Linked DNA regions of Homo sapiens: regions 2, 3, 4, 5, 6 and 7 are each linked to region 1. Evidence: promoter capture Hi-C in 16 types of primary human blood cells and fetal thymus (Javierre and others, 2016). All regions are on one chromosome and are shown on one strand. The core of a region is centred on a gene start or on the middle of the fragment in contact, and the rest is flanking DNA. Distances in the headings are between cores, read along the strand shown.

What was found. Contacts are between HindIII fragments. The CHiCAGO score rates a contact against its expected background, and 5 or more counts as called.
Region 2: a contact is called between a fragment that was not itself captured here and the fragment with the promoter of GABARAPL1 in region 1, in 1 of 17 cell types (neutrophils). The highest score is 5.1, in neutrophils.
Region 3: a fragment that was not itself captured here is called in contact with the fragment with the promoter of GABARAPL1 in region 1 in 3 of 17 cell types (naive CD8 T cells, total CD8 T cells and M0 macrophages); the score reaches 9.0 in naive CD8 T cells.
Region 4: a contact is called between a fragment that was not itself captured here and the fragment with the promoter of GABARAPL1 in region 1, in 2 of 17 cell types (total CD8 T cells and naive CD8 T cells). The highest score is 12.7, in total CD8 T cells.
Region 5: a contact is called between a fragment that was not itself captured here and the fragment with the promoter of GABARAPL1 in region 1, in 1 of 17 cell types (neutrophils). The highest score is 7.2, in neutrophils.
Region 6: a fragment that was not itself captured here is called in contact with the fragment with the promoter of GABARAPL1 in region 1 in 2 of 17 cell types (naive CD8 T cells and total CD8 T cells); the score reaches 9.2 in naive CD8 T cells.
Region 7: a fragment that was not itself captured here is called in contact with the fragment with the promoter of GABARAPL1 in region 1 in 2 of 17 cell types (total CD8 T cells and naive CD8 T cells); the score reaches 7.8 in total CD8 T cells.

The regions. Positions count from the first base shown.
Region 1 is chr12:10,210,592-10,214,966 of GRCh38, reverse strand. It overlaps GABARAPL1 (GABA type A receptor associated protein like 1), which reads right to left and starts at 2,090. Exons shown (of 4, transcript NM_031412.4): 1 at 1,748-2,090. The coding sequence starts at 1,837. GABARAPL1-AS1 (GABARAPL1 antisense RNA 1) reads left to right here. Exons shown (of 3, transcript NR_170310.1): 1 at 1-325; 2 at 598-913; 3 at 1,005-1,318. RefSeq lists a silencer at 1,958-2,217 and an enhancer at 2,311-2,853. The HindIII fragment of the contact is 15,130 bases long and covers 1-4,375 here.
Region 2 is chr12:9,720,364-9,724,738 of GRCh38, reverse strand. CLECL1 (C-type lectin like 1) reads left to right here. Exons shown (of 2, transcript NM_001441815.1): 2 at 1,926-2,247. The coding sequence ends at 2,113. Among named protein-coding and RNA genes, the nearest start is that of CLECL1, 11 kb to the left of the region's middle. The HindIII fragment of the contact is 1,435 bases long and covers 1,827-3,261 here.
Region 3 is chr12:10,703,675-10,708,049 of GRCh38, reverse strand. YBX3 (Y-box binding protein 3) reads left to right here. Exons shown (of 10, transcript NM_003651.5): 7 at 3,902-3,999. Among named protein-coding and RNA genes, the nearest start is that of YBX3, 17 kb to the left of the region's middle. The HindIII fragment of the contact is 9,991 bases long and covers 1-4,375 here.
Region 4 is chr12:10,683,673-10,688,047 of GRCh38, reverse strand. No RefSeq gene overlaps it. Among named protein-coding and RNA genes, the nearest start is that of STYK1, 12 kb to the right of the region's middle. The HindIII fragment of the contact is 5,756 bases long and covers 1-4,375 here.
Region 5 is chr12:9,739,271-9,743,645 of GRCh38, reverse strand. No RefSeq gene overlaps it. Among named protein-coding and RNA genes, the nearest start is that of CLECL1, 8.4 kb to the right of the region's middle. RefSeq lists enhancers at 277-346, 367-436 and a cis regulatory region at 2,955-3,207. The HindIII fragment of the contact is 2,182 bases long and covers 1,047-3,228 here.
Region 6 is chr12:10,662,452-10,666,826 of GRCh38, reverse strand. The region is part of intron 1 of STYK1 (serine/threonine/tyrosine kinase 1); the gene reads left to right. Among named protein-coding and RNA genes, the nearest start is that of STYK1, 9.4 kb to the left of the region's middle. The HindIII fragment of the contact is 6,775 bases long and covers 1-4,375 here.
Region 7 is chr12:10,644,108-10,648,482 of GRCh38, reverse strand. All of the region lies in intron 1 of STYK1 (serine/threonine/tyrosine kinase 1), which reads left to right. Among named protein-coding and RNA genes, the nearest start is that of STYK1, 28 kb to the left of the region's middle. The HindIII fragment of the contact is 3,412 bases long and covers 167-3,578 here.

The DNA.
Region 1 (4,375 bases), core at 841-3,340:
TAAAACATTTAACACCAAACTATGAGCAGGAAAAGAACAGAATGCTCTAAAATATTCAGAGTGAATGCACATAAATATTTATCTATTTCCAATACTTAACAGTGTAAAGTCCACAGCACGTCATTAATTCTGGTTAATACAACTATATTAGAAACTGAGAAACAATATGGCATGGAGGTTAAGATACCCGAGAGCTCCACAGTCCTTCAGACAGGGTTGGAATTCCAGCTCAACCACAGATCAGCAATGTGAAACCTTTAGGAAGTTACTGCATTTCTTTGTGCTTTGAATACTCCATCTGTAGAACGGGTAATCGTGTAAGGAAGTAAGTCAATGATTACAGACTGAGTACTTATAATACCGCTAGGGTAAACTATCAATAAAACTTGATTGTATTTTTTAAATATCATTGCTCAAAAGATTGGTATCACCAGAACTGGGCAAAATTTTCAGGTATCCAAGGTCCAGAAACCAGGAAAGTAATTTGTAAAGGATCCTTTCCCGAGTAAGGGATTAGCTCACCCCTCTATAAGCTGAAAACCTTTTTGTAATTCCTGGGGAATGAAGAGCCCTAATGACTTTTTTTTCTTTTTAAAGGAAAAGGGTTACAAGAGGTTTCTACTGCTGGGCTAAGGCCCTGGTGGCTTCTGGTAGCTATAAAACCACGAACGTTAGGTAAGGATTAGAGAAGAAACCCAGAGTGGCTGTGAGTCAAGAAAAGACATCAGATAACAGCAATTATTTTACCATTATGTGACACGTAATACTAATGTTCCTACCTGAAGATAAAGAGCACAATTTTAAAATCTCCGCTCCTCCATTTCCAAAATCCAACAGCTGCTGGTCCCCCTACCACTTAAGCCATATTCTGCCCTCCAATTCGGCTGCGCAGCCTGCATTAGAGAAACACCAGGCAAGTGGGCGGGGGAGGGGGTAATGGGGAAAACGCCCGGATGCTGAAAGATACCTAATACTTTTCTGTTCCTACTCACTGCCTGCGGTAGTTTTAACTACTTAAGCCGGTGTCCAAAACGGAGAAAAAACGTCTCAGTCCTGCCTTATCGCGACCAGGTACCAGGTGATCAGAAATCAACACGAGGAGGCTGGCTGTCCCCACACAAGCCCCGGAGCCTAGAACGATGAGGCAAGAGGGCTGTTGGGCAGAGAACGTGACCTTGTTTTCCAGGCCAGGACTGTCTTGTGCTCCCCTAACCCCCTGTAATGCAAGAAAATTACTGAATAGCTTCTGAACCTTTTCGTCCCAAGACCAATGATATGAGAGCCAAAGTCAACTTCATTAAAGGAGAACCAGCCAAGGCAGAAATCGACTGGGTTTGCGCAAACCTCACCGCACAGCACAATGTCCCTGCGTTCTTAAAGGCAGCCAATCCATGGCCCCGATCTAACCAGTCTCGCCCACAGGGGCCCTATTTTGTGCACCGCAACCCACACACGGTCTCAGCTGCTGAGACCGTGTGTGGGTTGCTGAGTCACTGAAGACGGCGGCTCGGCCCCCAAAACGCCGTCAGCCCTGAAGTGGGGTTCGGGGCCCAGGCATACGGGGTTTTAAAAGCTCTACAGTCTGGACGTCCATTGGCTCTGGCACTGAAGGGCGTTCAGGATTAAGTAATTCTCGGAACCTCCCTTCTCCAGAGCCGCCTGGGCGCCCCAGGGAAGCCATCTCGACTACCCGCCCCCGCCCCCGCGGGCCCTTCCCCTCCCATCCCCTCCGCTCCTCTACACTCACGGGGACCCTGTCCGGATATTTCTTCCGGATCTTTTCTCCTTCCTTTTTCCGATACTCAAAGGGATGGTCCTCCTTGTACTGGAACTTCATGATGCACCGCAGGGCTTCCGAGATCCCCGCGCGGGGCCTGCCTCCTTCGCCGCTGACCCTGTCCCGCTCCCTCAGCCGACGTCAAGGTGTGCTCAGAATAGCTGCAGAAACGTCCGCTCCGGGGGCAACAGCGCTGGGCCGAGTGTGCAGGGGGGGTTCGGGGCGGGGATCTCGGGTGAGCCTGCCTGGAGGTAGAGGAGAGCCAGATGGAGAAATACCGGCGGCTTTTCGCTAGAGCTGGGAGCACAAAAACAGCTGGGTGGCGCGTCGGGCTGTGACGTCACCCCGCGAGCCCCGCCCCGCCCCCCATGCGCCAGGCGCCCAGGGCAGGGGGTGGCCGAGCGCTCTGTCTCACTGCGTTTCCTTTCTGGCTAACCTTTTTCACAATCGATGTCACTGCAAACATCAAAACATTCGAGTTATGTTTTATTTTGTGACTGTGAAATTAAAGATGGTTTTAAGACAAAAAAAAGATTTAAACATGTTTTATTCCCCCTCCACTGTTTTTCTTGGTTGGGCCCCAAAACAAATACAAAAGGCGAAAATCCAGCCTTTTCCTGCTGGTTGGGATCCAGCCTCAGGAGAAAAGAGGGCCAGGCCTCCTGGGATCCCTTTGGCCAATGCAGAGCTGTCCCGTGCTTGCACCGTGCCCTCTGCGCGTTCCGCTGCCCCTCCCGCGGCCCTCCTCCCGCGCTGGCGTCACAGTGTTTGGGCGGTGCCGCAGTTCGCTCCTGAACAGCAACATAAACAGAGCGTGACTCAGGAATCTGAAGAGAGGAGTCAGATGAAGGACACGGAGTGTAATCAAAGTCTAAAGGAGACATGATGTCAGTAAGGACTACCGAGGGCTTCACGTACAATCAAATATAGAAATGATTCACTTTCTAGCCGGGCGCGGTGGCTCACGCCTGTAATCCCAGGAGGCCGAGGCGGGCGGATCACCTGAGGTCAGGAGTTCGAGACCAGCCTGACCAACATGGAGAAACCCTGTCTCTACTAAAAATACAAAATTAGCTGGGCGTGGTGGCGCATGGCTGTAATCCCAGCTACTCTGGAGGCTGAGGCAGGAGAACCGCTCTAACCCGGGAGGCGGAGGTTGCGGCGAGCGGAGATCACGGCGTCGCACTCCAGCCTGGGCAACAAGAGCGAAACACCGTCTTACAGAAAAAGAAAGGAAGGGAGGGAGGGAGGGATTCACTTTCTGCCATAAACTCAGAAAGGGGGCTCGTCTTCTGGAAAAGAGAGTATCAAGCAATTTAGGTGATGACCTCAGTTGTTCCCCCACATCTTATTTAGTTCCAGTGGTTAGGTATCCCTCACGTGACTAGAAAGCGCTGCCTGGAATGCTAGTAGAAGATTGGGCATTAGGGCAGGTGAGGCGAAGCCTCGTTCTGGATTTCCCCACCTAGAGTCAAAGAAGAAAGACCTTCCAACCAGTACTGTAGGGCAGCGACAGGGAGGACTGTGGAGTTTGCAAAGAAAAAGAACAGTGAAAAGGGGCTGCGTTGCCCATACAAGTCGGGTGAGTTCTGATAAATATTAGATAACAGCAGCCCCGTGGCCTATCTTCTTCAGTCGGGGTCTCAGTGTCTCTAATTTTAAAAACACCCACAGGGGGCCAGGCGCGGTGGCTCACGTCTGTTCTCCCAGCACTTTGGGAGGCCCAGGCCGAGGATCGCTTGAGCTCAGGAGTTCAAGACCAGCCTGGGTAACATGGCAAAACCCTGTCTCTACAGAAAAAACAAAAATTAACAAGGCATGGTGGCGCGCTCCTACAGTCTCAGCTACTGTGGAGGCTAAGGCAGGAGAATCGCTTGAATCCGGGAGGCAGTGGCTGCAGTGAGCTGAGATCGCCCACTGTACTCCAGCCTGGGAGAGAGAGCAAGACTCTGTCTCAAAAAGAATAAATAAATAAAAATAGGCCGGGCGCGTTGGCTCATGCTTGTAATCCCAGCACTTTGGGAGGCCAAGGTGGGTGGATCACGAGGTCAAGAGATAGAGACCATCCTGGCCAACATGAGACGAGTGAAACCCCGTCTCTACTAATAATACAGAAAAAATTAGCTGAGCCTGGTGGCGCTCGCCTGTAGTCCCCAGCTACTCGAGAGCCTGAGGCAGGAGAATCACTTGAACCCGGAAGGGAGAACCCGGGAGGGTTTAACTATATTTGCATCAAAACTAAAATGAGGCCGGGCGCAGTGGCTCACGACTGTAATCCCAGCACTTTGGGAGGCGGAGGTGGGTGGATCACGAGGTCAGGAGATCGAGACCATCCTGGCTAGCACGTGAAACCCCGCCTCTACTAAAAATACAAAAAAATTAGCCGGGCGTGGTAGCGGGAGCTTGCAGTGAGCCAAGATCGTGTCACTGCATTCCAGCCTGGGCGACAGAGCTAGACTCTGTCTAAAAAAAAAAAAAAAAACCTAACATGAGCGACTGAAAATTAAACTGTTTTCAATTTGAAAGTAAGACTTAAAATTATAAACATATAATGTGATAAAATAACTCATGGATTTTATTTATTTTATTTATTTATTT
Region 2 (4,375 bases), core at 1,295-3,794, 490 kb after region 1:
TTTTGGGACTTCAATTCTAAATATGTCATATGTTTCAATATTATTCCACAAGTCCTTGAGGATCTGAAAATTATCCAACATTTTTCTTCATATTGGACAATTTCAAGTTCGCTAACTTGTTTTCCTGTTAAATCTTGCCTTTAAGTATGTCCAGAGATGGTTTTTATATAAAATGTTTTACTATATTTCTCAATTCTAAATTTCATTTGGCTTTTTTCCTACTGTCCTTCTTTGCTGAGGTATCCTATTTTTTCATCGTTTGAAAGCATATTTTCTATTATGTCATTAAGCACAGTTACAACAGCTGCTTTAAAATATTTGCCTGATACTTCTAACTTCCACATCATCCTTATATTGAGCTGCATTGATTGTCCTTTTCCTTTAGAATTGGTCATATTTTTCTGGTTTTTCATGTAAGGCATTTGAGATTATATACTATACATTGTGAAAGTTATATGGAGAAGTCTGTGTTTTCTCACATATTCCTCCAAAAAAAGTGAAAGTGTTTATTTTCCTTTCTTTTTTTTTCTTTTTCTTTTTCTTTTTTTTTTTTTCATGGAGTTGCTTTGTCACCCTGGCTGGAGTGCAGTGTGACATGATCTGGGCTCATTGCAACCTTTACCTCCCAGACTCAAGCAAGTCTCTTGCCTCAGCCTCCCGAGTAGCTGGGGTTACAGGCACACACCACCATGACTGGCTAATTTTTTTTTATTTTTTGTAGAAATGGGATTTTGCCGTGTTGGCCAGATTGGTCTCAAACTGACCTCAAGCAATCTGCTTGCCTCAGCCTCCCATAGTGTTGGGATCACAGACGTGAGCCATTGCACCTGGCCAATTTTCCTTCCTTAGCAAGCAATTGGTGTAGTTGGACTTAAATTTAAATCTCTATCTTTGGGGCAGCAGGTCAAGTCTCAGTTCGGTTGTCTTGTTCTTACCATAACCTGGCTTGTGCTTGCATCAGTCAGAGATTTGGGGAAAAAAATTGTACACACAAGTTAGAGCACCCCCTCTATGTTTTTGATTTTATGGAATTGATTCTTCATTTTCAGCATCTGTGGTTTCTCTTAACTCTGTTCTCTGGTTATTCAGGTGAGAAAGGCTGCAGGTTTTTTAATGATGTTTTACTCACTCTACATGGGACTACAATTGGCCTAAGGCTAACAATTGTAAAAATGATAAACTTTTGCCCTGCCATACCTTCTTTGAAGTGTCATCTCCCCTCTAGAATCTGTCTGGCTTTGTTCACTCTTCAATGGCTTCAGGTCATGTGTGTGCGTGCGTGTGTGTGTGTGTGTGTCTGTCTGTCTCTGTGTGTAAAGAATATTTATTTACAGGAATACTAAATTATTGGTATATCTAGAATACCCTGTATCATCATCTAAATTTGCTGGGAAATATTATAAATTAGAACTAGCTGTTAAGAGCACATTTTTAGATGTCAAGATCGTTTTGTGTGATAATAGAGATGAACCTATTTGATTTTGGGGGACTGCCTATAGCACAAATTTTGCTTGTGAATAACTATACTAGTGTGATATAAACTCCCAACATTTCTGATGTGTTAGTAGACAACTAATTAAAATTTCTAATTTCTATTCTTCCTTTAAAGTTTTTAGTTCCTTGAAGCTTGGATGTTCATTGTTTTATCCTAGTGTCTGGTGCATTTCCTGGCTTATAGAAAACATGATATATTTTTAAAAGGATAAATTAAATGGAAAAAGGATGGATGAGTGAATGAATTAATGAATATACACATGACTTCAATTCTTTTAATTTTTTTTCAAATGTACCCTGGAACAAAGCACATACTTTTTTCAAAGAAAGCTTAGCACATAATATAACCAAATTTGAGACCCTTCAATTAGTATACATTATTAGGATACAGTTTTACATTGATTTTAATTGCTTATCTTCCTTTCTTCCAGTTTCTTTCAACTTTTCTACTGTCCATAAATCATGTCCTGCCAAAGACTGGAAGGTGCATAAGGGAAAATGTTACTGGATTGCTGAAACTAAGAAATCTTGGAACAAAAGTCAAAATGACTGTGCCATAAACAATTCATATCTCATGGTGATTCAAGACATTACTGCTATGGTGAGATTTAACATTTAGAGGTGACAGCATCCCCCACACTGGCAGTGAATTTTTTGTGCTACAAACTTGGCAAAAGTCTGTGAAAAGAAGTTTCAACTTCATGTGTTATTAACTATACAAATATTAGTTGAATGAATTGTTGAATTACATGATTACCTTTGAGGTTTTTTTTTTTTCCGGCTAGGAGGAGGGGAAATTCATTTTATGTTTTATACCAAGCTCTTCTCTCCAAGGGACCATTGCTTCTTAGCAGATTTCATTTTAAAACTTAAGAAATTGAGTATATGATCTCAGCACACATGTTTATTGCAATGCTCATAAAGGCTGTAGCCAGGTATCACAGCAGCTGAAATTAAGGAAGATTTTGTGAGAAAGGGAAGGCAGAACAGTATCTCTTACTTAGATTTAGTATTTCCAGAGGATAGCTAACATTTAGCTAACTCTGCCTTAATTTAAATTGAAGTTTTGCTGAATGGAGGTTGGACACTATTTTAAACCTTCTCAGTGATAAGGTCAATGTACATGTTAAATTACAAATATTAAATAAGGGTTCTCATGGGGCTCAGTATGTTAGAATCACAAGCTATGTCAGTAGCTCAGTTTCTGCAAACCCTGTGGCTAGCAGTGCTTTACAAACCTGGTTGAACATGCGCCATCTGAAAGAACTTAGAAAAGGGCAGCTGTTGAGACATCTGAGGGAAAAAGTCCCTCTTGAGTGTCACAGAAATCCACACCAAGAAAAACTAAAAGAGAAGTAAACTATTAATATCTTCAGTGAAACTAGTGTTACCCCAAATGTCAAACTGTAAGGCTCTGTCAGGCGCAGCAAACTATGAGCCAAATCAAGGATGGAATTAGGAATTGATAAGAGACCTTTGTTTGTTCTTCTAGAGCAAATTTTAATGAACAAGAAAGAGGAAGCAGGGAGTAACTAAAAAGCATCTAAAAAGAGTGTTGTCTAAAGAATCAACAATAAATAATAGCTTGGAGCCATTGCGCAATGAATGACTTCACTAAGAATCTCATATATCTCCTGCTCACAGTCAAAGGGAAAAATGTGAAAATGCAGAAAAACATGTCTCTCAGCAAACAGTAAACCAGATTTAGGAGAACGGTGATCTAAGACAACACATTTTAACGGAAACTTACTTCCTCCAGTTTAAGCTTTACCTCTTCACATCATTCCTAAGTAAATATATGAGTCAGACACAATTGTTCCCTTTCAAGAATAAACAAGACTCTAAAAGGAATTAGTGTATGATTTATGCATAAGCATGTCCCTTTCTAAACATCTCCCAAAAAAGAAAAGTAAAAAACAGATAAAATATGTTACAGAAGAACATTTACTCCAATAAATATAAAATCATTTTCTAGCGATTATTCTCAAGTTCTCAAGTAAGTTAAAGTTAAAATGGAAAAAAAAAAGGATTATTAGTCCATCTAGGGTATCCAAGTGTCATCATATGGCAAATAAAATAAGAAGTATGAAGGAAAAAGGAGAAGGAGGGCAGAGGGGCAGGGAAAGAGGCATAAAAAGAAGTAAGGGAGATGTGTGGCTTTCATTTCCATGTTGCAGATATCTCAAAGAAATGCTGCTACCCCTTCTATAATGGAAAATAGCCAAATTAACTTCTCAACATTTTCAAATCCATTGAAGAATGAACTCTGTAGAACAACCAGCTGGCCAAAATCTATGGTGACAGGCACATGCGAGAGAGAGGAAACACATCCTTGCTTATTTAGGATAGACAAATCCAACACCAGATACCAGTAAGAATTCAGCCAGGATAATTGAAAGATGGATTAGGGATAAGTGTAGGGTGGCAGAACAGTGTGAAGCTCCTGGGGTCTGCAGAAATTAGAAAATCCCACCACCTCTCCCAGGCTATTTCTCTACAAACTCCACCAGACTCTCACAGAAATGACTGGAGAGAAGCAGAAATTCTTCATGTCCATTGTGATGCAGACCTGGAGAGAGAAAACAGTGATAATACAGAGGTGGCGGCTGGGCGCGGTGGCTCACACCTGTAATCCCAGCACTTGGGGGGCCAACGTGGTCAGATGACCTGAGGTCGGGAGTTCGAGACCAGCCTGACCAACATGGAGAAACCCCGTCTCTACTAAAAAATACAAAATTAGCCGGGTGTGGTGGTGATGCCTGTAATCCCAGCTACTCGGGAGGCTAAGGCAGGAGAATCGCTTGAACCTGGGAGGCGGAGGTTGCAGTGAGCCATAATCGCAGCCACCGCACTCCAGCCTGGGCAACAAGAGCGAAACTCC
Region 3 (4,375 bases), core at 744-3,243, 490 kb before region 1:
CAGTGGTTTCCATATTTTTTGTTGTTGTCACAAATGAAGGAATTTGATTACTTTTAAAAATCAGCAACTTTTATTTTACATGGACAAGAAGTGGTAGAACTTAATTTTAATTCATTTTGTTCTTGTCATCCAGTCTTTCTGGCAGACTCTCATCCTTTATACACGTTAATTGCTGTTTCTGTCAGTCTTTTTTTGTGACTCAACAGTTTCTGAGGAAGAAATGGCCGAGCTTACTTAGGAAACTAAAGAGAGGCTCATGTGATGGGGATGATGTGAATGAAGGGGGAGAGGGTATGAGGTGAGATCTCAGGGGAGGTCAGACATGCTGGTAGACCACTGTAAAGACTTGACCTACTGTAAATGTGATGAGAAGCCAGTAAAGGGATCTCAACAGAAAAGAAACATTGAAGAGATTATTGGACTGTTTTGTTGGGACTAGACCACAGGAGGTAAGAGTATAAAAGCAGGGAGAACAGCTGCTATAATCTTTTCAGTAGAGAAATGAACATGGGTTGTATTAGAGAAGCTGGCAGTGGAAGGTCTGATTAAATGGTTAGATTTGGAAAATGTTTTAAGCATATAGAGGTGTTGGCATTTCATGATGGATTGAGTGAAGAGTATGAGGAATGGTAATATATTGTATGAGGAGTAAATAATACCTCTGCAGTTTTGATTTAAACAAATACGGGAATACTGAAGAAAGATTGGGTTTGGAGGGAAAGGTGAAAATTCTTTGGAGGTCTTTTTCTCATATTAAATTCACGTACAAGTGGAGGTGTTAAGTAGGCAGAAGAAATAAAGCAGAGGGAAGAGGTAGAAAGTGGCTGGAGGATGGAAGGTGTAGTCTTAGATACAGTGGTTGACAACATTTTTGGGAGTTCATTAAGTTGTATTTGAGAAGAGACCTAAATGGAGCAAGGGATCAAGTCCATCAGGTCCCAGGAAAGGCGTGAATGGGAGTCTGAAGGGGAGAAATGGAACTGCAAATAATTATTTGGAATTATTTATTTATTTATTTATTTATTTATTTTTTGAGATGGAGTCTCACTCTGTCACCCAGGCTGGAGTGCAGTGACACGATCTCGGCTCACTGCAAGCTCCATCTCCTGGGTTCATGCCATTCTCCTGCCTCAGCCTCCTGAGTAGCTGGGACTACAGGCACCCGCCACCACGCCTGGCTAATTTTTTGTATTTTTAGTAGAAACGAGGTTTCACTGTGTTAGCCAGGATGGTCTCAATCTCCTGACTTTGTGATCCACCTGCCTTGGCCTCCCAAAGTGCTGGGATTACAGGCGTGAGCCACCGCTCCTGGCTGATTTGGAGTTATAAAACAGGATGTTTAAAGCCGTAGGGGCAGGATGATATTAACTATAAAGTGAGTGTAGGTGGAAATAGGGTCCTAGGATCAAGTTCTGGGACACACCAACGATTAAAGATTAGGAAGATGAGGATTGTCTAGCAAAGGACAGTGAGAAGGAGCAGCCAAGGAGAATGTATTTCAAGAAAGAAATGTGTTAAATGCTTGTTGATAAGTAGAGATTAAGCTGAGAATTGATTATTAGATTTGGTAACTTGGAGGTCAGTGGTTTGGTGAAGACAAAAGTTTAAATAGAATGAACTTAAGAAACAGCAAAGGGCGGGAAGAGGAGACATATTCCCCATTGAGGTTTCTGTAGTGGTGGTCATGGTGTTTGGTTTTTCTTTAGTATGTATGTCTGTAAAGAAATGGGGTAGTAGCTGGAAGAAGATAAGGGATCAGAGCAAGATTTTTGCTTGATTTGATTTGCTTTTTACAATGCAGAGTTACCCCTGGTCTCTCCCTTACCCGTTACCTCACCAACAACTTCTAAAGCCATTAAATGGGCAGATCAAGGTAGGCACGTGTGTTTGCCATAAACCCACATATATATATACACACATACATAGACACACATATATGTGTAACATTGTGTGTGTGTGTTCCATGGTTCTGTCTACTGAAAGGTCCTGAAAGCCGTGATATCTTAGTAACAGCATTGAGCATACCTGTCCCCCAATTTTTTGTTTTTAAATAACATTCTCAAACAAAAAGAATTCCCTTTGGAGAAATGGCTGATTTCAGAGCTGGGACAGAGAAAGTATAATATGAGCCTGGAACATCTTGTTGTGCCAGAAAGCGAAGAAGTACTCAAAGAATGTTGGAAACACATCAATAGGATATGAGCCAGCTTGAAGGGGTTCCCATTGGCCAGTAATGATAGTAACAGATTACAACTCATTGAAAAAAATAGAAAACCATGAGTCCATACAAATATAAATAAATAAACCAATATATTGAAAAATTTGATAACGAATAGTATATTTATGCACTTTGTAAGTACTTCCTCACAAAGTACTCATTAATTACAAAGAAGGAAAGAGTCAACTTACAGTGGAGGACTCTGGTGGCAGATACCACCTTAACCACTTATCAAAGTGAACATTATCAGTAATGGCACAAATTGAAACTATATGCCACCTGACAGGATGCAGTGAGGAGAATGCAGTGTCACTTTTGTGACATCCCCCTGGGGATGCAAAAACAATATCTAATCATTAGTGAACACCAATAACCCAAGTTGAGGGATATTTTACAAAATAACTGGTTTGTAATCTTTAAAGAAGTATCAGGGTCATGAAAACCAACGTGGTGGCTCATGCCTGTAATCCCAGCACTTTGGAAGTCTGAGGTGGGTAGATCACGAGGTCAAGAGATTGAGACCATCCTGGCCAACATGATGAAACCCCGTCTGTACTAAAAATACAAAACATTAGCTGGGAGTGGTGGCACATGCCTGTAGTCCCAGCTACTTGCGAGGCTGAGGCAGGAGAATCGCTTGAACCAGGGAGGCAGAGGTTGCAGTGAGCTGAGATCGCGCCACTGCACTCCAGCCTGGCGACAGAGTGAGACTCCATCTCAAATAAATAAATTAAAAAAAACTGCTCCAAACAAAAAGATATAACTTACTTTAGTGCATAATTCTAAACGGTGTTTTTGCTATAAAGGGCATCATTGGGATAAATGGTGAAACTTGAATGGGATCTGAGAATTACATTTAACTTTTCTGTAACTTTGTGCTTATTTCAAAATTTTAAAAAATTGAAAAGGATGGGTGCTATTTCACTGGGTATATATGCTTGGATGGAAATGATAGAAAAGGTGAAAACATAGTGAAGGGATAGCGTTAACATGCTGTGTCTAGTTGATGAGAATAGAGAGGCTGTTGGTTTCAGATATGAACTTGGACCACTTACCCAGGGTAATGGGAGAGAAGAAAATTCTAATGTAAATACAGGGAGCTGGGTAGATTTGCTAATGAGAACGTGGAAATTGTCTTCTGACTGTTTCTCTTTCTTGATGAAATAATGAAGGACAGTATTTGGCTCTTAGGGGGAGGAAGGGATGTTTTGAGAAAAGAAAAGAAAGTTGAGTTATGGCTGTATGGTCAAGAATTGCAGACATTGTTGGTGGGTTTTTTTGTTTTTTTAAGTTGTTCTTTCTTTCCCCTGGAAGTTGTACAATAAGTTAATTTTATTCCACTGGCTTAAAGTAAGTTTGTTGTAAAGAAAAATAAAAGAGTATTTTATTTAAAGAGATGAATGAAATGTATCCGATTTCAAAATGTTAAATTGATAGGCGAAAATAAAGTTAGGTGCTCTGGGACTAAGCAAATGAGTATTCTAGTCAGACTAGGTTTGTCTTCCTTTTCAGTCGTTCACGAAGATTTACTCATAAATAGTTTGTGTTGCAACTGAGAGTGCCTAATTTTGTAATGAAGCATTTTGTTTTTTACTTCTAAAAAAAATTCTGAACATAGCTGTATGCACTGTATCTTATCCCCTGTGCTGTGACACTCACTGTCAGCTCTCATTGCCTCTCCAGGCTGGTGAGATTGGAGAGATGAAGGATGGAGTCCCAGAGGGAGCACAACTTCAGGGACCGGTTCATCGAAATCCAACTTACCGCCCAAGGTACCGTAGGTATGTCGCATTTTCCACTAATGGCCAGTTAAAGGACTTGTGTGCACAATGGTAGAATGAGGACTGTGTGGTTCCGTTTTGTGGATTTATTATATATCTAGAAGATGTGAATGCTTTGACTACATGCCAGAGTTTTCAGGTGGTGGTGTGACATTTCCCACCTACTTAATACTAGAATTTTTAGTTATCTCTGCGCCAAAGCGTCATTTTGTATTCTGGAATTATAATAAGATGTAAATTAATACTTAATTTTTATCAAAATAAATCAGATAAATTATTGGTGGGCAATTCTGTGGTAATGCTGCAGATGGAGGAAGAATTGAGTGTCAGAGGATATTTGGGATAGTGACTGTTAATCACTGAGGCAGTCCAGTAG
Region 4 (4,375 bases), core at 1,272-3,771, 470 kb before region 1:
AGCCCTCCAAAGTGTTCCAAGTTCTGCCTGTTACTGAGTTCCGAAGTCACTTCCACATTTTCAAGTATCTTTATAGCAGTGCCCCAAATTGCCAGTATCAATTTTCTGTAGTAGTCAATTTTCACACTGCTATAAAGAACTACTGAGAGTGTGTAATTTACAAAGAAAAGAGGTTTACTTGACTCAGTTCCTGTATTAGTCTTTTCTCATGCTGCCAATAAAGACATACCTGAGACTGAGTAATTTATAAAGGAAAGAGGTTTAATCGACTCACAGTTCAGCATAGCTGAGGAGGCCTCAGGAAACTTAACAATCATGGAGGAAGGGGAAGCAAACATGCCCTTCTTCACATGGTGGCAGGAAAGAGAAGTGCCAACCAAAAGGGGAAAAAGCCCCTTATAAAACCATCAGATCTCATGAAAACTCACAAGAACAGTAACATGGGGGTAACCAACCCCATGATTCAATTACCTCCCACTGGGTCCCTCCCATGACATGTGGGGATTATGGGAACTAAAATTCAAGTTGAGATTTGGGAGGAGACACAGTCAAATTTTATTAGTTCTGCATGGTTGGGGAGGCCTCAGGAAACTTGCAATCATGGTGGAAGGCAAAGGGGAAGAAAGTCACATCTTAAAATGGCAGTAGGGGGCAGGGAAAAGTGCACCACTTTTAAACCATCAGATCTCATGAGAACTACCTTACTATAATGAGAATAGCATGGGGGGAACTGCCCGTATGATCCAATCACCTCCCATCAGGTCCCTCCCTTGACTTGTGGGGATTATGATTTGAGATGAGATTTGGGTGGGGACACAGAGCCAAACCATATCAGTGGGTCAACTTGCCAGACCTATGTTATAATTTAGTTCTCAGTGATCTTGACTGACTTTCTCTTCTTCAAGATATCACAGTGGTTCATTACATTGATGACTTATGCTGATTGGACCTCATGAGCATGAAGTGGCAACTATTCTGGACTTATTGGTAAGAAATTTATATGTCAGAGGGTGGGAAATACATCTGATGGAAATTCAGGGATCTTCTCCCTTGGTGAAACTTCTAGGATGCAGTGATTTGGGTCATGTTGAGATATCTCTTCTAAGGTGAAGGATATGTTGTTGCATCTGGCCCCTGACAGAGGCACAGTGCCTAGTAGATCTCTTTGGATTTTGAAGGAACATATTGCTTATTTGGGTGTGTTACTCTGGCCCATTTACAAGTGAACTGAAAAGTTGCGGGTTTTGAGTGTGGCCCAGAACAAGGCAAGGCTCTGCAACAGGTCCAGGCTGCTGTGCAAGCTGCTCTGGTACTTGGGCCATATGGAGCTTGAAGTATCAGTGGCAGATAAGGATGCTGTTTGGAGCCTTTGGCAGGTTCCCTTAGGTGAATCATAGGACAAGTCTTTAGGATTTTGGAGCAAGGCCCTGCCCCATCATCCACAAATAACTACTATTCTTATGATAAACAACTCTTGGTGTGCTACTGGGCCTAGTAGAGACTGACTACTTAATTACGGGTCACTAATTTAACTGGACCTGAGCCACCCACCATGAACTGGGTGTTATCTGGCTCCCCAAACCATAAAATTGGGTATGCCAGCACTACTCCATCATCAAATGGAAGTGGTATATACATGATCAGGCCTGAGCAGGCCTAAAGGCACAGGTAGGTTACATGAAAAGTGGCCCAAATGCCCACTCCAGCTATACTGCCTTCTCTCTCCCAGCCTACACTTACAGCCTCACTGGGAGCTCCCTGTGATCAATGGTCAGAGGAAGAGAAGACTTAGGTCTGGTTTACAGATGATTCTGCACTATATGCAGGCACTACCTGAAATTAGACAGCTGCAGCCCTAAAGCCCCACTATGGAACATCCCTGAAGGACAGTGGTAAAGGGAAATCCCCCAATGGGCTGAACTTTGAGAAGTGCACCTGATTGTTTACTTTGCTTGTAACAGAAAATGGCTAAACATGTGGTTATATACTGATTTATGGGCTGTGGCCAATGGTTTCACTGGATGCTCAGGGATTTGGCAGGAACACGACTGAAAAATTGGTGGCAAAAAATGTTTGTAGAAGAGCTATATGTATAGACCTCTCCTGTGTCCCATGTGAATACTGACCTTAGCAGGGGAAAATCCTGACTCCTAAGGCAAAATGGGACAACTGCTTTGCAATGGAAATAAGGAAGAAAACATGTCTGGAATACAGGAGATCCTTTAGGGCATCTCTTAGATTACATGCTCTGTGTTTAAGGTCAATGAAACTATAACAACCCAGCCTAGGGAGGAGGACTAAGGGAGCAGATCCTTCAGAAATGAAGGTTTTGGTCACATCGCCTGATAAAGAATCATGACCAGCTGAGGTGTTGCTAAAAGCAAAGGGAACATGGAATAGGCAGTGAAAGACGGTATTACAAATACCAGCTACAACCACGTGACCGCTTACAGAAATAAGGACTGTAATCATCATGAGTACTTCCTCCTTATTTTGCCATGAATACATTTGTGTTTGTGTGCATCTTTGTTTTCTTTCCTCTCTTACTCCCTTATCATGTAGCATAAGATATATTCATTGTATAGCCATAGTGTTTAAGTACAGTTGTTCCTTGGTATCCATGGAGGATTGCTTCCAGGACCTCCTGCTGATACCAAAATTCACAGATGCTCAAGTCCCTTATATAAAGTGGTATAGTATTTGCATATGACCTATGTACATCATCCCATATACTTTAAATCATCTCTAGGTTACTTATAACACCTAATACTATGTAAATGCTATATAAACAATTGGTATCCCCTATTGTTTAGGGAGTAATGACAGGGAAAAGGTCTGTACATGTTCAGTAAAGATGCAATCATCCATTGTTTAATGAATACTTTCAATCTGCAATTGGTTGAATCTGTGGATTTGAAACTCACATATATAGAGGATTGATATTTATTTTATATCATAATATTTAAGTCAAGGGATGTCAAGGAGAAGAGTACACACTGCTCAAGGACTTTACCTCCTTTTTTGGGAAAAGGGTAATTGCCAATTTTTGTTTTATGCAGGGTAATTGTATCATGTTAGGTGGAATTAGGACATTGTTGTTTTCTTTATTTGGAGATTAAAGTATGGTTTAGAAGATGTGTATGGGTGCCAAGTTGGCACGGTGTAGACTTGAGATGGTTAATTTTATATGTCAGCTTGACTGGCGACAGGGCGCCCAGATTAAACATTATTTCTGAATGTGTTTGTGAGAGTGTTTTGGAAGAGGTTAGCATTTGATCGTGTGAACTCAGTAAGGTAGATTGCCCTCCTCAGTGTGTGTGGGCATCATCTAATTCACCGAGGGACTGAACAGAGCAAAAGGCAGAGGAAGGAGGAATTTGCCCCATTTTCCCTGCCTCACTGTTTGAACTGGGGCATCTCATCTCATCTTCTCTGGCCTGGGACTGGAATTTATACCATAGGGTCCTCTGAGTCTCAGACCTCCAAACTTGGACTGAATTATACCCCTGGCTTTCCCAGGTCTCCATCTCACAGATGACAGATTGTGGGACTTGCCAGCCTCCATAATCATGTGAGCCGATTCCTCATAATACCCCCACTTCTTTCTCTCTCCACGGATAGATCGATTGATAGATAGATCTTTTAATTATTTGTTCCAATTTTTTAAAAAATTTAAAAAAGGAAACACACCCCAATAGACATTTTAATATATAATCTCCATATATGTATGACTACACTCATAGCACATGTTATAAAGCACACAAAAAATAAAGATCAAATATTTTCAGAAGATGTTTGTTAATGTAACAAACTTCTTCATACTCAGATATTTTAATAATAATGTGATTTAAAATGTTTCATTATTTATAAAAAGGTATTGTCTTAATACTTTGTGATATGTGTTTTGAAAATCTGTTTCTTTGCTCAGTTTGATATGGTATTTGATTTCAATGACTGTAACAGCTGAAAAAAAAATTCTGGTCCAAATAGAAAAAAAAGCACTTATACATGTATAAAATATATACATACACACACAGATACACACACATACATATATACACGTATGTGTGTATATACATATTACATGTATATATGTGTATATATACACACATGTAATATATACACACATATAAGAGCTAGTTACATATATGTGTGTAATATCCATATATACATACATACGTGTATATATATGTGTGTATATATGTGTATGTGTGTACATACTATTATGTACACTTACACGTATTTTTTGTATACACATATGCAAAAATCATTTATTATTATATATATATACACATATATAAATACACATACACATATACGCACATCCCATTGCCCAATTATTTAAATGTTTTTGTTAAAATGTCCATAGAACATT
Region 5 (4,375 bases), core at 888-3,387, 470 kb after region 1:
GATGGGAATGGTGGCTCATGCCTGTAATCCCAGCACTTTGGGAGGCCAAGGCGAGTGGATCACCTGAAGTCAGGAGTTTGAGACCAACCTGGCCAACATGGTGAAAACCCACCTCTACTAAAAATACAAAAATTAGCCAGGCGTGGTGGCAGGTGCTTATAATCCCAGCTACTCGGGAGGCTGAGGCAAGAGAATCACTTCAACCTGGCAGGGGGAGGTTGCAGCGAGCTGAGATCCTGCCACTGCACTCCAGCCTGGGTGACAGAGAGAGACTCTGTCTCAAATTATATATATATTTAAAGCTGAATGCCTGGTTTCATTTTTGTCAAAGTTTATGGCAACTTCAATCACACAGGGCCCCCTACTGGCAGAACACCTCCTTTTCTTCCAGCTTGCACTGTTGCTGAAGCTTGCCTACTCACTTCCAGACTATTTAAATTCGTCTACTCTTTCCATAATTTCTGAGGGTGTTTGTCAAAAACACCAGGGATAATTGTTTAACTTCCGGAGGCAGCAATATAATAAAAACTGAGACAAAGAGCTGATGAAAACTTAAAAAAAAAAAAACTGGAAATGAGATGTCTATAGTAGGCTTCAAAATCTCCAACATATTTCTTGGAATCTTGAAGGTTGTGCAAAAGCACAGGGCAGTGTGAATGTCCAGGGCTGTATACAGGTTCAGGAGTTACCTGACAAGAACCTAAGCTCTCACCTCTGGCTGACCTCGAAGCTCAGCCTGTGCAGTGTGAATGTACAGGGCTGTAAACAGGTTCAGGAGTTACCTGAGAAGAACCTAAGCTCTCACCTCTGGCTGACCTCGAAGCTCAGCCTGTGCAGGAAGTGAAGGAACAGCACAGCGAACTGCTTGCTGAGGGTCCAGGGTGTGCCCCCAAGTGCACGCAAAGTCTCTCAGCAAAGAATGGGAGAGTGAGAGTTTTCAAACTCATGAATCGGTTTAAAAAGACAGGCAACAACAAATGTTTAAGTGAGAAAAAGACTACAGAAGTGATTTCCCAGAAAAAGGACACCAAAATGGCAAAAAAGCTTATCAAAACACTCAAATTCGTCATCAGAGAAATGAAAAAACTTAAAGGAGTCACTACACACCAACTAGAATATCTAAAATTTTTAAAGAAATAAACAGAAATAAAATCTGAGAATACCAAAGGTTGGTGAGAATTTAGATCAACTGAAATGTTCATAAACCTGAAGGAAGTTCAAATTAATAACCATCTTAATTTGGTCATCTCTACTAAAGCTGCACATCAGCATACTCTGTGAACCAGGAATTCCACTCACTCGTTAATAGAAACAAACATGTATGTGCACCCAAAGACAGGAATCAATATTCATAGCAGTTTTATTCATAATAGCCCTGAATTGGAATCAGATGTCCATCAACTATAAAATAGATAAATGTTGCAGCATCCATACAAGAAGCACTATACCCGTTACACATGCAAAAACACAAACAAATATCAGAAACCTACTGATAAGCAAAGAAGCCAAACATAAATGATCACGAGATTGTGTGATTCCATTTGTATGAAGTTTTTTAAAACCCTAGAATGACAAAGACAAACCAGCCTAACACAAATTGCTGCAAAACCTGAAAATGCTTCTTCACCGCCCATTTCAGTGTGGTTAGACCACTGATTCATCATCTCTGTTTCTTAGTAAAACTAAATGCTTATTTATGTCAATGTAACATCTTATTTCAAGTGGCACTTCCTCTCTGATGCACCTGTGGGCTGCGGTAAAATCTCATGCGTGCTCTGTTGGGGCATTTTTGTTTTGTATATCAATTGTCAGTAAATTACTTACTTATTGACATACTAGAAAATCAGCTCCCTGAAGGGAGGACATCATTTTTAATCTCAACTTCCAGTTTCAGGGAAAGCAATATAGTTTAACCATTGTATTTATAGGCTTTGGTGTCAAGTAATCTGGTTTCAAATTTCTGCTCAACTCCTATCCTTCTGTGTGACTTTGAGTGAAGTACCTTGTTTTCCTCATCAGCACTTAAATGGGATAATAAAGGTGCCTAGCTCCTACAGTTGTGATACCAGAAGACTTAAATGAGCCAATACCTGACACACACAATGTTCTTAGTAAATGTTAGCTTTTAGCTAATCAAATCATCAAACTGTATTTATAAGTTTAGTGTAAATTAAGATTGCTACTTTCATATGAATATTTCCACATAAATTAACACATTCAATATAAATCTTATAAATTTTGTATGAAATTTCATAAAAATTAATCTATTAATACAAATCTAACCCGATGTTTCTCTGAATGGAAACTTTTTGGCATGTATATATCAAGTGGCCTTGAAAACTCATTGATTAATATTCTAAATTAGGTTGCTCTTTAAGAAAACTCAATAAAACATTAAAAGTAATATATCTGATTTTTTTTCTCATAGATGTGAAGTTTTTTTGTTTTAATTCTCAAACTAACAAAGGCTACCTAAAAATTCAATAGGGTACTTTCAGGTACATTTGTAATATTCAACAGATGTATTTGTTTCTGCTTTCTCTAAAGTCTCAGTAAAAATTATATTAATAAAAACATTTAATAGAATAAAAAATGATTGGGAGCAACTAGGCATAGATGAGAAATGTCTACAAAGTTTGGACTATGTTCAGTAACTTAGGCCATAGTTCCCTGGACGCTAAAGCATCAGAGACCCTATGCACCACAGACTCTATGGTGGCTCCCATCATCCCCGTGTTCTGGTCTTCAAGCTCTTGTGTGATCTCCTCTCTTTGAATGTGGATAGGACTTGTGATTTGCCTCTAATCAATACAATACAGCAAAGGTAATGGTATATGCATGATTACATGAATGGAATGGAATGTGCCTAAGATTATAATAACTGTCTGCCAGAGGGGACTCTTTTCATGGCTGGCTTTGAGAAAGCAAGGTGCCATGTCGGGAAAGTCCTTACAGCAAGAAACTGAGGGCTACCTCTGGCTAGTAGCCATCAAGAAACTCAGGCCCTCAGTTGATGGCCCACAAGGAAGTGAATGCTGCCAGCAACCATGTGAGCCTAGAAGCAGATCCTTCCCCAGATGAGCCTCAGAGGAGATGAGAGCCACAGCCAACACCTTCACTGCAGCCTTGTGAGTCTCTGAAGCGTAGCACCTACCCAAGCCATGCCTACACTCCTGGCATACAGAAATTATGAGATAACAAATGTGCATTGTTTTAAACCACAAAGCTTAAGGTAATTTGTTATTTAGCAATAAAAAACTAATACCGTATGGGTTCAATATGGGGGAAAACTGGGGAATTAGTAGAAAATATATACAAGGAGCCCCTTGAACAACCAAACGGCAACCCTGTATGTCTACTGAAGATTGGAAGTTTATTGCCTGGCATTACTGAACCAAAAGGAGCCTGAATTCAGAGTAAGAGTCTCTAGGCAAGGCTAAGGGAGGACGTGCTTTACTAAAGACAGAGGAATTAATTGAAATTCTGAATAACAGACTTGCTTTTGAGAGGTGACAGCGTGCTGGCAGTCGTCACAGCCCTCGCTCGCTCTCGGCGCCTCCTCTGCCGGGGCTCCCACTTTGGTGGCACTTGAGGAGCACTTCAGCCCACCGCTGCACTGTGGGAGCCCCTTGCTGGGCTGGCCAAGGCCGGAGCCGGCTCCCTCAGCTTGCAGGGAGGTGTGGGAGGGAGGGGCGCGGGCGGGAACCGGGGCTGCGCGCGGCGCTTGCGGGCCAGCTGGAGTTCCGGGTAGGCGTGGGCTTGGCGGGCTCCGCACTCGGAGCAGCCGGCAGGCCCTGCCGGCCCGGGGCAATGAGGGGCTTAGCACCCGGGCCAGCGGCTGCGGAGGGTGTACTGGGCCCCCCAGCAGTGCCAGCCCACCGGCGCTGCGCTCGATTTCTCGCCGGGCCTTAGCTGCCTTCCCGCGGGGCAGGGCTCGGGACCTGCAGCCCGCCATGCCTGAGCCTCCCACCCTCTCCGTGGGCTCCTGTGCGGCCGGAGCCTCCCCGATGAGCGCCGCCCCCTGCTTCACGGCGCCCAGTCCCATCGACCACTGAGGACGACTCGCTGAGGAGTGCGGGCGCAGAGCATGGGACTGGCAGGCAGCTCTACCTGCAGCCCCGGTGTGGGATCCACCGGGTGAAGCCAGCTGGGCTCCTGAGTCTGGTGGGGACGTGGAGAACCTTTATGTCTAGCTCAGGGATTGTAAATACACCAATAGGCACTCTGTATCTAGCTCAGGGTTTGTGAATGCACCAATCGACACTCTGTATCTAGCTACTCTGGTGGGGCCTTGGAGAACGTTTGTGTGGACACTCCGTATCTAGCTAATCTGGTGGGGATGTGGAGAACCTTTGTGTCTAGCTCAGGGATTGTA
Region 6 (4,375 bases), core at 1,208-3,707, 450 kb before region 1:
CAAGAAACTTATAACCATGGCAGAAGAGGAAGCAGGCACGTCTTACATGGTGGAGGTGAGAGAAAGCATGTGAAGGAAGCAAAGGGGGAAGAGCCCCTTATAAAACCATCAGATCTCGTGAGAACTTATTCCTATCACGAGAACAGCATGGTGGAAACCGCCCCCATGATCCAATCACCTCCCACCCGGTCCCTCCCTCGACATGGGGGGATTACGGGGATTACAATTTGAGATGAGATCTGGGTGGGAACACAGAGCCAAATCATATCAACATGTAATATCCACATATGAAGTCAGGTGCCTTTCTGGAAAAAGCCTTGAAATGATTGGTTTTAGTTGTACACTCAGACATTGAATGATTTAACCAGATGTACTGTGTTGTGGGAGATGAATGCAGGGTTTGTGTTGGACAACTTTAGGAGACAGTATTATGTTATATTCATATTATGCTACCAAATAAGTGGTGAAAAATATTTGCCAAAGGTGCTAATTTGGTGTTTAGAGAAGTTGATCTCAAGTGCTTATTTTTTCTGACAATAGTCAGCTATCAGGACCAATTGTATGTCAAGTCACCCCTAGTTTGTGTCAGTGAAAAAAGGCTTAAAATCAACTTCTCCAAAGTCTCTGTTAAGTCAGATCAGGCTGGCTTCACTTAGACAGGAAAAGCTCCTGGTTGACCCTCACCTACATGCTCTTTGACACCTCTTCAGCCTGGGCCCAAATTTAGTACCACTTCTGGCCAGTAAGAAGCTATAACAGCAAGAAAGGACTTGTTTAGTGGTAGAATTAACAGGTTTGGCTTAAGGAAGGAGGAGAGAGGCAAACGGAATGCTGAAAATTGATCCTGACTTCCCTGTGGTGAGATTTATTCTATAAGACTTATTCGCAGATTCCACAAATCCAGCCCATCTGATGTGAAACCACATGGCTTCCCTGACTCCTACTTCTGTGGTCTTTCCTCACAGGGCTCAAGGCCTGGCTCCTTTAACTTACCTTGGGGCTGATATCTTAGTATAAGTCAGAGTGAGTTCTGGCTGAGGAAGAAAAAAGAAGCAGAGTATTAATTAGAATATTCTTAAAGCTCCATCAATGAAAACACAGCTGGGATATAAATATTGTAGCCTTCATGTATCTGGTAGAGATTGGCAGAGGCTAGTCTGGACACATGTGCATCCCAAAGTTCCAGAAGAAACTGTGACAGTGTATGCACATTGTGAATTGCAAGGGCCAGGATCTTCTTCCTGGTTCTCATCCCTACAAAACTCAACTGAAAAAAATAGATGGAATATCCAGTCAGCCTTATGAAGGGTGGGAAAGTGTAGTGGGAAGAGCATCAGATGGAGATTCAACACACAATGCTTAGCTGCTAATTAACTGCTGGGAGGTGTCTGAACTCTGTGCCTTAATTCCCCCACCAGTAAATTTGGAAGTTAGGTTTTTGTTGTTGCTTTCAAAGCACCCTTGTACACATAGGGCATTCTACGGCATTTGTGAAGCATGCTCTGCATTTCATAGTGTATTTGTCAAAGAGATCAAGAAATAGACAGCAGGGTTGCTGTTCTTACATTTTTTGTTTCTGTAACAGGGAGGTGTGATCATAGTGGTACAGAAGGCATGGGATGGTTACCTCATTTACAGCGTGTGAACGGCATGGCTTTCTGACACTGAGAGTTGAACCTGCTGTGTTTGCGTTCTTTCTTGAAGCCCAAGCAGCTCCCATAACCCCAAGTGACCTTGATTTCACTCTCTGTCTCTTTTCCTCACCCATATTTCATACTTAGGGACAGTCTAATTAATGGATTCATGATTGGAAGGTCCCACATCTGATTAGATCTCTGATTCATTTTCTGACTTATGCATGTCACCTTTTCACTTAAACTTGGTTTCCACATGCAATATGAAGTTGGTAAAATAGCCATGAATTATTATGAAATGATTTCCTATTACAAAAATGGGGATAATTTGGAAAAATATTCCAGTTTTGCAGCATTAGAAAAAAAGGAGTGTAGGTAAACCTAATGTGATTTATAACTACAATTATAATCTCCCCTCCCACACCAAAATCATTTTTCTAAGTCTGCTTTTTTGGGGGCTAACATTAAAACAAATTATTCTTAATTTGCTGAGTTAACATTTACTAGGAAATAGAGACAGGCTCACTTGAACTAAGGTCATAAAAGTATGACCTTAGGATATCTACAAACAGACGGACAATAAAGATTTGGCAGTATCAGCAAGACATAACTAGTGACAGGTTGTGGGTTTATAAATATTCAGATAGTGTGTGAGATCGATTGCTCACAAAAAGAAGTTCATTGATCCTTGGCATAGAACTCTCTGTTCTGTGCTAGATGTACTAGCATCTTTACACCTGAGTTTAGGGTTTAGAGGTGATATTGGGGGCTGCATCTTTGTGGACTTTTACTAGAATCTCAGTCAGACATATTTTGGGTGCCTAGGGAGCAGTGGTCTCTGTAGGAGGATGGATAAATAGAAGTATTTATATTAATAGGAAGTTAGGGATGTGAATTCTTTGGACACACTCTCTTGTCCCTGCAATTCATGACAACCTGAGAAATTTAGATCATCCCTTGTGGTCTGTCAGGGGAAAATGAGCTGGGTTCTGACACCAAGACAACTACAGAACGTAGTGCCCTATATTCTGTCTACTTATCCAGGTATGAGAAGGATCAACAGTGGCCTTATATTACACCATGCTGCTTCACATAGAATGCATTTCTGGCTAGTCTCTGGGACTGGGAGGCATTTGTTGCCCGACCTGTTCTAGGACAGATTCTTTCGGAGACAGAACATTCTGTGGTCTCACCAAATCACACACAAATTCTGGTTTAACCTTTAAAGGCCATGGAACTATAAAGTTTATTATCAACAAATGTTACTTGTACACCAAAAACTACAAAACATCCCAAGTATCCTTGAAAGAAGCTAAAGAAGACCTAAATGAATGGAAAGACATATAGTTTTCTTAACTGGGATGACTTAATATTGTTAAGATAGTGGTACGCCCCAAATTGATCTACATCCTTAACATAATCCCTATCAAAATTCCAGCCTTTTTTTTTTTCCGAAATGGTCAAAGTGATTCTAAAATTTATGAGAACGCAAGGGAGTCAGAATAGCCAAAACAGTCTTGAAAAAGAACAAAGTTGGAGGAATCACACTTAATGATTTTTTTTTTTTTTTTTTTTTTTTTTTTTTTTTTTTTTTGAGACAGAGTCTCGTTCTGTCGCCCAGGCTGGAGTGCAGTGGCGCCATCTCGGCTCACTGCAAGCTCCGCCTCCCAGGTTCACGCCATTCTCCTTCCTCAGCCTCCCGAGTAGCTGGGACTACAGGCGCCTGTCACCGCGCCTGGCTAATTTTTTGTATTTTTAGTAGAGACGGGTTTCACTGTGGTCTCGATCTCCCGACCTCATGATCCTCCCGCCTCAGCCTCCCAAAGTGCTGGGATAACAGGCGTGAGCCACCGCGCCTGTAAGTTTTAATGATTTTAAAACTTACTACAAATCTACAGTAGTCAAGATTGTGTGGGCTGGGTGCTGTGGCACGTGTCTATAATCCCAGCTACTTGGGAGGCTGAGGCAGGGGGATCCCTTGAGTCCAGAGCTTGAGGCTGCAATGAGCTCTGATCACACCATTGCACTCCAGCCTGGGTCACAAAGTGAGACATTATCTCTAGTAATAATAAGGCTGAAAAGACTATCTTTAATCATAATAAAGAGCAGAAAAAGATTGTCTTTAACAAATTATGCTGGGACAATTGGATATTCACGTGCAAAAGAATGAAGTTGGACATTTACCTCTAATTCAAAATGAACCAAAGTCCTGAATATAAGAACTAAAACTATGAAATTCTTAGGAAAAACCTAAGTGTAAATCTTTGTGATATTGGTTGGGCAATGGTTTCTTAGACACACGTCAAAAGCACTAGCAATCAAACACAAAACTGTCAAAATTAGAAACTATTATGCTTCAAAGGACATTATCAAAAGTGAAAAGACAACATACAGAATGGAAGAAAATATTGCATATGATATATCTAATAAGGGTTTAGTTTCTGGACTATATACTGGGTACTTACACAATAAAAAGACAAATTGCCCAATCAAAAAAAAATGGTAAAGGATTTGAATGTACATTTCTTCAAAGAAGATATACAAGTGGCCAATGAGCACATGAAAAGATGTTCAGCATTATTTATCATCAGGGAAATGCAAATCAAAACCACAGTGAGATATCATTTCATACCAACTAGTTGGGCTACAGTAAAAAAGACAAAAAGCAAGAAGTGTTTGTCAAGGATGTGGAGACACTGGATTCCTTATAAATTACTGGTGGGAGTATAAAGTGATGCACT
Region 7 (4,375 bases), core at 623-3,122, 430 kb before region 1:
TTCAGTGAACTCATTTACTTTTGTTTTTCACGTTTTTGACTATTTATTTATTGGCATATTAGTGGTTTTCTCATTACTATAAAAGTACTATGTTTTTATTTGTTTATTGATTGATGTTTCCATTGTGATTTTTTTTTCTGTTGGAAGAAAGTTTTTTGTTTAAGCTTAGGAAGTTATCACAAACCCAATATAATTTATAATGTTAAGTTTTTTATGTCTCTTAAAGCATCTAGCTTTTTTCCCAAAATTTATTTTGTGTACAGGTGAATCAAAAATATAATTTTTGTTATCAAACAAGTAGTCCATTGCCTAAATTCCATTTGATGAATAATCTATCTTAGTACTTCTCAACCCCAGCTGTATGTTAGTATCTCCTGGGAAGCATTTCCTTGATTGAAGCTGATATCTGAAGTCATAATCTATGGGGTTTATAATCATCATAATCTCTAAGAGGAGTGGTGTATTAGTCCGTTTTTATGCTGCTGATAAAGACATACCTGAGACTGGGCAATTTACAAAAGAAAGAGGTTTAATGGACTTACAGTTCTGAGTGGCTGGGGAGGCCTTACAATCATGGCAGAAGACAAGGCAGAGCAAGTCACATCTTATGTGAATGATGGCAGGCAAAGAGAGAGAACTGTCTTGTGCAGGGAAACTCCCCTTTATAAAACCATCAGATCTCGTGAGACTTATTCACTCTCACAAGCACAGGAAAGACCTGCCCCCATGTTTCAATTACCTCCCACTTTGTCCCTCCCACAACACATGGGAATTCAAGATAAGATTTGGGTGGGGACACAGCCAAAACATATCATTTTACTCCTGGCCCTTCCCGAATCTCATGTCTTCACATTTCAAAACCAATATTGCCTTCCCAACCGTCCCCCAAAATCTTAACTCATTTCAGCATTAACTCAAAAGTCCACAGTTCAACATCTCATCTGAGACAAAGCAAGTCACTTCCACCTGTAAGCCTGTAAAATCAAAAGCAAGTTAGTTATTTCTTAGATACAATGGGGATATAGACATTGTGTAAATACAGCTGTTCCACAGGGAGAAATTGGCCAAAACAAAGGGGATACAGGCCCCATACAAGTCTGAAATCCAGCAGACCAGTCAAATCTTAAAGCTCCAAAATGATCTTTGACTCTATGTCTCACATCCAGGTCATGGTGATTCCAGAGGGGGGTTCCCATGGTCTTGGGCAGCTCTGCTGCTGAGGCTTGACAGGGTATAGCCCCACTCCTGGCTGCTTTCATGGGCTGGTGTTGAGTGTCTGCAGCTTTCCCAGGCACATGGTGCAAGCTGTTGGTGGATCTACCATTCTGGGTTTTGGAGGATGGTAACCCTCTTCTCGTAGCTCCACTAGGTGGTGCCCCAATAGGGACATTGTGTGGGGGCTCGACCCCACATTTCCCTTCTGCACTGCCCTAGCAAAGGTTCTCCATGAGGGCCCCGCCCCTGCAGGAAACTTTTGCATAGGCATCTGGGCATTTCCATACAGCCTCTGAAATCTAGGCAGAGGTTCCCAAGCCTTAATTCTTGACTTCTGTGTACCCACAGGCTCAACACCACATGGAAGCTGCCAAGGCTTGGGGCTTTCACTCTCTGAAGCAACAGCCCAAGCTGTACCTTGGCCCTTTTAGTCACAGCTGGAGCAGCTGGGACACAGGGCACCAAGTCCCTAGATTGCACATAGCAGAGGGACCCTGGGCCCAGCCCATGAAACCATTTTATCCTCCTAAACCTCTGGGCCTGTGATCAGAGGGGCTGCCTCAAAGGTCTCTGACATGCCCTGGAGACATTTTCCTCATTGTCTTGGTGATTAACATTTGGCTCCTTGTTACTTATGCAAATTTCTGCAGCTGGCTTGAATTTCTCCTCAGAAAATGGGATTTTCTATTCTATCACATTGTCAGGCTGCAAATTTTCCAAACTTTTGTGCTCTGTTTCCCTTATAAAACTGAATGCCTTTAACAGCACCCAAGTCACCTCTTGAATGCTTTGCTTCTGAGAAATTTCTTTGTCAGATACCCTAAATCATCTCCCTCAAGTTCAAAGTTCTACAGATCTCTAGGGCAGGGGCAAATGCCACCAGTCTGTTTGCTAAAACATAACAAGAGTCACTTTTGCTCTGGTTCCCAACAAGTTTCTCATCTCCATCTGAGACCACTTCAGCCTGGATTTCATTGTTCATATCATTATCGGCCTTTTGGTCAAAGTCATTCAACAAGTCTCTAGGGAATTTCAAACTTTCCCACAGTTTCCTGTCTTCTTCTGAGCCCTCCAAACTGTTCCAACTTCTCCCTGTTACCCAGTTCCAAAATCACTTCCACATTTTTGGCTGTCTTTTCAGTAGCACCCTACTCCTGGTACCAATTTACTGTATTAATCCATTTTCACGCTGCTGATAAAGACATACATGAAACTGGGCAATTTACAAAAGAAAGAGGTTTAATGGACTTACGGTTCCAAGTGACTAGGGAGGCCTCCCAATCATGGTGGAAGGCAAGGAGCAACAAGTCACATCTTACGTGGATGGTGGCAGGCAAAGAGAGAGAACTTGTGCAAGGAAACTCCCCCTTATAAAGCCATCAGATCTTGTGAGACTTATTCATTATCATGAGAACAGCATGGGAAAGACCTGGCCCTATGATTCAATTACCTCCCACTGAGTCCCTCCCACAACATATGGGAATTCAAGATGAGATTTGGGTAGAGACACAGCCAAACCATATCAAGTGGGAAATGAACATCAGGATTGATATTTTTTAAAAATGCCTCCTAGGAGATTCTAATGTGCTCTCTGGTTTGAGAACCACTCATCTGCTTATTTTGATTCTTGCTGACTTCTTTATATTAAAGTCCTAAATATGTGTCTCTTTTTCTGGGATACTTATGTGTTCTATTAATCTATCTCTCTGTTTTTCAGTGTGTGTGGGTGTGTGTGTTTAGGCTTTGTAAAACATTTATGCCTGATACAGGCCTCTCCATACCAAACTTTGCTTTGTTTTTTTTAGAATGAGAGATTACTGCATGTTGGGGTATTACCAGTTCCCTTTCTTATCTTGCTGGAGCCCTAAGTTTCCAAAGAAATCAACTGTGAAATCTCTCTCTGAACTCCTCTTTTCAGTCCTCTCATTCATATAGGTCGCAAAGATCATAGAAGAGCCCCCTAAACACATTTTCTCCACATCCTCACCACCTATTCATTCCCAGAACCACCCTGCTCTCTGGCCACTGCACTATAGCTATTCTTTCTATGATGGGTGACCTCCATGTTGCCTGTATCTGCTACTTATTGTTTTCCTGACCTGTCATCAGATTTTAGCCCAGCTGTTGTCCATGCCCCTCTCCTTTGCTTCCACAACAGCACAAACTCTTGGTTCCCCTTTTACTTCTCTAGTTTTTCCTTCTTAGGCCCTCTTTGAGTTTCCCCCTGGACCCCAATTCCTCTTCCTTCATGTAGCCCTTATCCGTTGGAACTCCATGGATTCTTTCCTAGGCCCTCTTTTCCTCTCTTCTCTTTTTCCTTTTTGTTCATTTTTTCCTCTTTCTCTCTTATTCACTTTCAAGCTTTCAATATTATCTAATGACTCCCAAATATTTATCTCTGGTCCAGACTTCCCTTATGAATCCTAAGAACTGTACAACCAAATGCTTTTTTCTAATATTCTACTTAAAAGTCACACTGGCATCTTAAATCAAAATGTCCAGAACAACTCATCATCTCCTCTTCTTTGATTTCTCCTTCTCCTTCTTACCTTCTACAACCACTGTGTCCTGTTGGTTCAATCTCCTCAAGGTTTCCAATCCATTATTTTTCTTTTTTTTACTGTCACTACTGTAATCCAAAAAATGATTATGAAATTATTAGTTTCACAATTGATATTCTCGTATGTATTTATTATCACCTGCAATTTATTACTCAATTGCTGCAAAACTAATACTCATTTTTACTTTTCAATTTGAAATGATTAAAGGTTCACAAGTAGTTGCAAAAATAGTATAGAATCCAATGTAACAATTACCAATTTTCCCAATGGGAACATCTAAATAACTGTAGTAAATTATCCAAATTATGAAACTGACAATGGCACAGTATAATGAACTAGAATGTAGAGTTTCCTGGGATTTCAGTTTTTGCATTCACACATTATCTTTTTCCTCTCTGTGCATAGTTCTTTGATATTTTATCACATGTATAGACTCATGTAATTTTCACCACAGTCAAGATACAGAATTGTCTGTCACCATAAAGAAACTCCCTCATGCTACCCCTTCAAAGTCACACCTTCTCCCTGTTCCTACTGGTAAACACTGATCTATTTTCTGTCTCTCTAATTTTGCCATTTTGGAAATATTATACGGATGG